2 separate regions of the Homo sapiens genome follow, and region 2 is linked to region 1. The links are contacts of gene promoters, found by promoter capture Hi-C in blood cells and fetal thymus (Javierre and others, 2016). All regions are on one chromosome and are shown on one strand. Each heading gives the region's core, a stretch centred on a gene start or on the middle of the fragment in contact. The rest is flanking DNA. Distances are from core to core; before and after follow the strand shown. Region 1 holds the start of TET2 (tet methylcytosine dioxygenase 2). Region 2 holds the start of RPL34 (ribosomal protein L34).

The links. The method cuts DNA at HindIII sites, captures the fragments that hold promoters and counts their contacts. A CHiCAGO score of 5 or more calls a contact.
Region 2: a fragment that was not itself captured here is called in contact with the fragment with the promoter of TET2 in region 1 in 1 of 17 cell types (total B cells); the score reaches 5.7 in total B cells.

The regions. Positions count from the first base shown.
Region 1 is chr4:105,144,301-105,148,236 of GRCh38, reverse strand. It overlaps TET2 (tet methylcytosine dioxygenase 2), which reads right to left and starts at 1,361. Exons shown (of 11, transcript NM_001127208.3): 1 at 1,258-1,361. LOC124900868 reads left to right here. Exons shown (of 3, transcript XM_047416559.1): 2 at 1,276-2,742. The coding sequence ends at 1,964. RefSeq lists silencers at 387-456, 1,420-2,099 and enhancers at 787-836, 1,180-1,349. The HindIII fragment of the contact is 4,110 bases long and covers 1,133-3,936 here.
Region 2 is chr4:108,617,427-108,620,903 of GRCh38, reverse strand. It overlaps RPL34 (ribosomal protein L34), which reads right to left and starts at 328. Exons shown (of 5, transcript NM_001319236.2): 1 at 304-328. It overlaps RPL34-DT (RPL34 divergent transcript), which reads left to right and starts at 447. Exons shown (of 4, transcript NR_026968.1): 1 at 447-596. RefSeq lists enhancers at 316-365, 1-790. The HindIII fragment of the contact is 903 bases long and covers 799-1,701 here.

The DNA of each region.
Region 1 (3,936 bases), core at 112-2,611:
ATAACACTTATATTTCATTTTCGGCCTTTCCAGGAGTCTATCCAGGCCACACTTCATTATGTCATAGGTAGAAAACTCTCCATACAAACCCTATTAGCTTAATAAAACTAGACAAGCAGTCCCAGTGAAAAGATTCAGCAAGATGCGAGTGAGGTGTGTGTGTGTGTGTGTGTGTGTATGTGTATGAGAGAGAGAGAAGAAAGAGTAGAGAGGAGACACAGAGAGAAAGGCAGAGAGATGAAAGACCAAAGAGAGAAGCCAAAGAGAAATTTGGATGGGACTGTTATAAATCTGCTCTTCACTTCTTTGCTGGGATTGGGTTTCATTTCTTTAGGCGCCCCTGACCTTGCAGTCTTGCAACTCCAACGCTGCGCTCCCCACCCCCTCCCGCCCCCTCCCCGGGCCTGCGCCTGCCTTTGTGTCTGCCTGTCACTTACCAAGGAACCAAACGAAGCTGATTCGGGAGAAGCACAAAGCCGGGACACAGATTTGTCCATAAATTCTCTTACATACATTCCCCAGGCTGGAAGGCTCAGCCCAGCGCTGACTTATGTACCTTGAGAAAAGTGAGTTCTGGTCTTGTTTGGGGAACCAGAGAAACTATTCTTTCCTCTTTCACTCAGCGCCGCTAACAAAACGCGCGGACTTAAGGAAAAAAAAAACCCACTCAGTGTACTCCAATTCCACTCCCTGTGACATTCACTTCGTACAGCCCCCTAAAGGGGGATAAGAAGGTAGGAGGAGGCAGACACAAACCCAGACCCAGACCCTACAGCTGATAAAAGGGTCGAAAAACACCCTATCAGTGTTCTCTCTGAGGTTGTTCAGGATAAACGGGAGACTCGTTTCACTTACACGAAAGAAACAGGGGAAGAGGATTAAAGGGAAAAGTAGTGCCCCCAAAGCTGAACTATTTTAGAAAGGAAAGCAAATTTAAAAATCACTTTTCTGAGGATTAAAAAAGGCCGGGAAACCGGCTCGTCGGAGGCACAAAGGTAAGTTTTCTGGGAGATGAGGGGACGAGCATTAGGAGGAGAGAAGAGAACACAGAACTACAGGTTTAAAAGGGGTAGAGGGAATTAAAACTATATTTGTCAGCCATGTTGAAGAGGCTCCAGTAATTTGTGAAGCTTCCCTCTTCCCTCTTGGTATTTGTGGGTGACACTACAGGGTTTGCTCCCCAGTCCCTGGAAGCCCGAGAAAAAGCGAAGGGGAGAAGAAAGGGAGAGTTTCGCGGCATAAGAGAAGCGCTCTGACCTCGTTCTCGTCCCTCAGCCTTGCAGCAATCCAGCAGTTGCAGTCGGGTCTCCTTTCTAACAAATCCTAAAGGGCAGCCATCTTGCTTCCTTCTGCTTCTCTACGAAAGCAGCCTAGCCTCCGCATCAATATTCATAAGGCAGTTTGACGTCTGTTCTCATCACTCAGCGGGGCCGGCGTCTCGGGGCGGCCGCGCCGAGGGGGCGGACGTGACTTGCATGCGAGCGGGACCCGGGCGCGCGGCGCTCGCGAGGAGGCGGCGGCGGCCGCCCAAGCTCTCGCCGCTGCCACTGCCGCTACCGCCGGCTCTCCTCCTCCGCCCGGGCCTCCTCCTGCTCCGCCCCGGCCTCCTCCCGCTCCGCCCCGGCCTGCGCCGCCGCCCTGGGGCCCTCAGCCCCGGCTCCCAGGGAATTAGCCCCCCGCACCGGGCGTCCAGCACAAAGGCCGGCGGCACCTGGGGCCGTACAGCGGGGCGCGCAGTGGAGACCTGGGCTGCCCTCACGCCGTGCAGTGGCGCGGGGGGAGTGGTGCGCCCGGACCAGCGCGGAGTAGGGGCCAGGGCTGGCGAGCGCGGGGAAGGGTGCAGCCCTCGGGAACCCCGGGGACCTCGGCGGGTCTCCACCCCTGGGAGAAGAAGCAGAGCAAGCGCGAAGGTTGGGGGCGAGGTGGGAGGTTGGGATGGCACGGGTGCCTGGACAAAGACGTGACATCTAAGATTTCCCTTTGAAACTTTTTGCTGGTCTGCACTCCACCACCACTTCGAGGTCCCGCGCACACGCCCCCGCGCGCACCCACCTCCTCCGGAGTGTACCCGCACGTGCCCTCGCTCTGGCCCCCGCCTCCACCCACTGGCACCTCTCCCCGCACCACACCTCCGCTTGCGCCCACCTTACCCTCAGAGGCCCGCGTCTCTATCTCCCTTTAGATCCCGTTGCCCGCGCTCTCCTTTCCCTTTTCTGTCGCTTTAATCTCATTCAGCAGAAGCGCTCCCCTGTTTCACCGAGGGCATGCCCTTAGTGCTTTAGGGGCCTGTATTTTTAAAGACCCGACAAACTGGGAAATTGACCGAGTTCTGTTTCTCCCCGCCCCGGCCCACCTTCTGTTTACTTTAGCCACGTGGGCTGAGTAGAAGGGGGCGTCTCACAGATTGAAATAGGTTTCTCACTAGTGACCCCCTACTTCTCGCTAGGAGGAAATAAACCTGCACTTTCAAATGCTTAAGTTGCCTCTCGTAAGAGCCCTTACTTTGAAGTAGTTTCCCCCCGTACAATTAAGTAATGAAGAAACCGACCGATACAGAGCTAATTCCGAATGACGGATGCTTGATTTTCCCTGACATTCGGAGCTCTGTAACTATGCTCTTCCTTTGACCGGAGTTTTTCTCTATTGCCGAGTAGTGTTACTTCCCCCTTCTAATGCTCCTTTTTCTAATCATCAACTTTTTATTTGAAGATGAGATGAAGAACAAAGCCCATATGAGTCATAGTAAGTATCATATTACGTCAGATAGTCGTTTTTGAAATATTCCCTTCATCTTTTACATGTTCTTACATGACTGACGTTCAAATTTTAAGTGGGTATTTTGGTCACATCTTTTATGGGATCACTGCATGGTGATCACAGTACCCTTAAGTCAATACTAGTTATATTGTGTAACCACACTTTTTTTGGTCTGTAATTTTTTTTAAAAGCGAAGCCCTAATTTTACGAAATCGGAATATTTCCTCTTTGAAGAGTGTGAAAAAGGGAACTCCTTGCAAGTGTCGCATTGTTGCTAAGAAGAATGTTTAGTGGGTCCAATCAAACTTTGTTTATTCCATTTTGAAACAAAGTTGACTCAGATTTCAGATTTTGCACAAACTAAGGAAATAGTACATTTTCCCTTAAACATTTCAGGTGGGAATGACATTCCATGTTTTCTAGCTGTACACTAAAGCGTCACTTAGGTCTTGGAAATTGTTAATGCACTTTAAAATCTAAGCTGTTTGAAAGTTCTTTGTGATCTTTATTTCTTTCTTTCTTTTCTTTCCTTTTCTTTCTTTCTTGAGACAGCCTCTCTCTGTCACCCAGGCTGGAGTGCAGTGGCGCGATCTCGGCTCACTGCAACCTCGGCCTTCCGGGTTCAAGCGATTCTTCTGCCTCAGCCTCCGGAGTAGCTGGGACTACAGGCGTGCGCCACCACGCCCAGCTATTTTTTGTATTTTTAATAGAGACGGGGTTTCACCATATTGGCCAGGCTGGTCTGGAACTCCTGACCTCCCAGAGTGCTGGGATTACAGGCGTGAGCCACCGCGCCCGGCTTGTGATGTATTTTTCAAGTCCAGGAAATAAAGTTCTCTCAAGACCACAACATACATTTATACAGTGCACAGTATTGCAGAGTTGTTGAAACATGGGCTTTGGAGTTTTACAGAGCTGAGTGACTCTTAACTCTATCTTTTCCAGTGTGACCTTGTGCATTTTACTTAACTCTCTCGGTATCGGTTTCTTTCAATCTGTTCAACAACCTGTAAGACAGCAGAGTTGTGGTGAGTTTTTAATAAGAGCACTAGGTAAGTGCCCAGGTAGTTACTACTACTACAGTAACAAACCATTTACTTCTAGGAGTTATTTTGTTTCTGACTATAGAAGTATATAATTATATATCTTCTTACATTTAATAATATGTGGAAAATATTA
Region 2 (3,477 bases), core at 1-2,500, 3.5 Mb before region 1:
GGCGATTTTCCAGACTCAAACCGCCAAACCACAACTCGTTAGTCTCCAAACGCTACACTTGGAATGCAGCAAAGTCCCGGGTGGTGAGCTGTGGCTACTCACGGCTTTGGAGGTGCCACCAGGAACAAGGGATTTCCAAAGATCAAAGTAAGGAACTTCCTCACCACCAACCTCCCTGTTGTGCCCCTTACCCCTACACCAGCTCAAAGGACTGCTTCTGAGAGCTCTAGGCTTCCTCAGCTCCTCGGATGGCAGCCGATTGGTAAGGAAATAAAGACAGGGAAAAGAGAACAACATCCATACCTGCAGACAACGTCCCCGGAAGAGGAAGAAAAAAGCCTTTGCCAGTTCAAAGGTCAAATAGAATTGCGCAGGACAGGAAGTTGCGTCAGAGAGAGAGTATCCGTGTTGTACGGAAGCCGACGCACCTCTCCGACGTGGGCAGAGATGCAGGGAACCACCACGTTGTACGGCAACCAACGTGCCGCCCCTCTGTGGGCGGGGATTCACACTAGCTGTCTGTGTCAAGGCCACGCAGAAATCTATTGGAAATCGCTGTGGAAACAAACGCAAATGAAAAGCCGCAAAGAGCAAAGGTGGGACAAAATCAACTTCTTTCGTTGTCATGGACACTGCACTTTTAATCTAAAGGGCGCCAGCTCTGGCGTTAGACCTGGGTTTAAATCCCAACTCTTGACATTTATGGTTAAGGGACCTTCAAGGACCAGGGACCTTCAAGAACCTTCCCTTCTTCAACCTTCCCTTCTCTTTCCTTGTCATTTATTCAGAGCACAAGCTTTACAAACAAATTGGGATTTTAATCCAGTGTCTGCTAATTATTAGCTATGTTACTTTGAGCAAGCCCTTAAATCTCTAAAAGGAAGATATTAGGAACTACCGTGCCATGTTATGTCATGATCAAAGGCATTATGAAGTTAAAGCACTTAGCACAGGGTCTTATAGAGAGGAAGTGCTCAGTAAATGGTTGCTAATCTTATGATTATGTACAAAGAACTACTTGAGGCTTTTCATGGGTGGTAAAGTTTAACCTTTAAAACAGTATGTAAAATTTTACATTAAGCGCACGTGTGTATTTTTCTGAGAAGAGGGTCCCTGGCTTTCATCACCTTGTCAAAGGGATTCATGACCTCTAAAAAAGTAAAGAACTCTTTGCCTGGGCTGTAAAAGACAATTCTAAAAGGGGCCTTTAAGTTTTTAATCTTAGATCAGGCTCCCTGGAAACACACCTCGAAGAGACTTGAGTGTTGGCTTATGGGGAGCGCTCTTAGAATGCACCTCCAGGAAGCTGAGAAAGGCGGGGTCAGGTGATCCACAACGTGGTTGCTGTGAGGCAGCTGCATTGCCCCAGAAGAGAGGATTTGGATAGGATATCCCAGTACCCACTCAACTTTCCTTCTAGTATTTCTAATCCATCTAGCAAACCAAGAAAGCAGGCAAGTGACTGAGGGCATGTAGTCTGTCTTGAACTGTGAGGCCTATTGATTCTATCAAGCCTCACATCACTGCCATCTTTGTCACAACACCAGATGGAAGGCTCTGGTTATATCCTTCCCTCTGCTCACTCTCAAATAGCTGCTTCTCCCCCGACCTTGTCATCAGCTACTTCCCTCCTTTCCAGTCCTTTGATTTTTGTCCTCTGAAATCCTTTTCGTCTCTGTGCCAGGCATTGAGATGGAAGCTTGCATAGAGAGACAAATGTGGTTTTTGAATAAATGCACTAATGAATGTATTTACTTGCAATATGTTCTCTATATTTTAAGAGAGACTTTGCAGAGCAGAAGAGAACAGGAGATGGGAGCCCTTGGCACACTATGCTGTTGTTTACGTCTCTGTCCGTGCCTTCCCCCACCCAAGTAGATAAGAATAGTGGTCTCATTGTTGTAGTTTTCCCTTAAGGTACTTAACCCAGTTCCATAATACTATTTTTCCCTCTCTTTAAATTTGTATTTGCATTTTTTCTTGATCAGTCTTGAGAGAGATATGGCAATCTTATTAAAAACTTCAAAGACAGCCAGGTACAGTGGCCCATGCCTGTTAATCCTAGCACTTCGGGAGGCTGATACAGAAAGATCACTGAGACCTGTAGTTAAAGATCAGCCTGGGCAACATAGCGAGACGCCCATCTCTACAAATTTTTTTTTTTTAATTAGCCAGGTGTTGTAGCACACACCTTTAGTCCCACCTACTCAGGAGGCTGAGGCTGGAGGATCACTTGAGCCTAGAAGTTTGAGGCTGCAGTGAACCATGATTGTGCCACCATACTCCAGCCTGGGCAACAGAATGAGATCCTATCTCAATAATAATAATAATAATAATAAATGTATGAAACTTTGGTATATGACAAAGGTAATATATCAGATTGGTGGGGAAAGATTGGTGACTATTCAGTAAATGAAGTTGGGAAAAATGGTTATACATATGGAAAGAAAAAATTGTATCCTTAAGTCACTCTACACTGAAAAAAAAAACCTTAAATGAGTCAATAATAAGGCTTTAATTTATTAGGAAATATAGGTGACTATCTTATAGACGTTGGAGTAGAAGAGGATTTTTTAAACAAGGCACAAAAAGCACAAACTCAGAAAAGACCAATAAATCTGACCACATTACAATTAATAGCTTTTATCAAAAAACCCTTAAATAAAAAAATGTTAAACCTCAAAGTTTCCCAGTCCAAGCCAAAAAAAGTATGATAGGTTCACCTTATTTTAATTTCACAAAAATTTGTAAAATATTTATTAAGTGCACACAGAAATTAATGAACAGAGAACAAAGACAGATTAAAAAAACAAATGAGATTCTTTAGGCCGGGTGTGGTGGCTCATCCCTGTAATCCCAGCACTTTGGGAGGCCAAGGCAGGTGGATCGCTTGATGCCAGGAGTTCAAGACCAGCCTGGCCAACATGGCGAAACCCCGTCTCTACTAAAAATACAAAAATTATCTGGGCGTGGTGACAGGTGCCTGTAATCCCAGATACTCAGGAGGCTGAGGCACGAGAATCACTTGTGCCTGGGAGGTGGAGGTTGCAGGGAGCCAAGATTGCACCACTGCACTTCCACTGAAGTTGCCAGCCTGAGCAACATAGAGAGATCCTGTCTCTAAAAAAAAAATTTTAAGGGGTTTTGTACATGTGATTATGATTACTAATCAGTAGACTACAAAGGAAGCCAAAATTAGAAGTGGAATGAAGGAATGTGTTGCAAGACACCAACAGCTTTTGTTATGCTAAAAATAGAACTCGTTATTGGCAGTTGTTTTTTCTTGATTTTCTTGCTTTCAGTACTTTATGCCACTAAGCATAAAATAATCATTTTAGTATGCTCATGGATTCTATGGATCAGGAATTTCTACATGGTATAATGAGAATAGTTTGCCTTTACTATGTAATGATTGGAGCCTCAACTGGGGGGTAACTTGAACAGCTAAGGTGTGCATGGGTTCTCTAGAGAAACAGA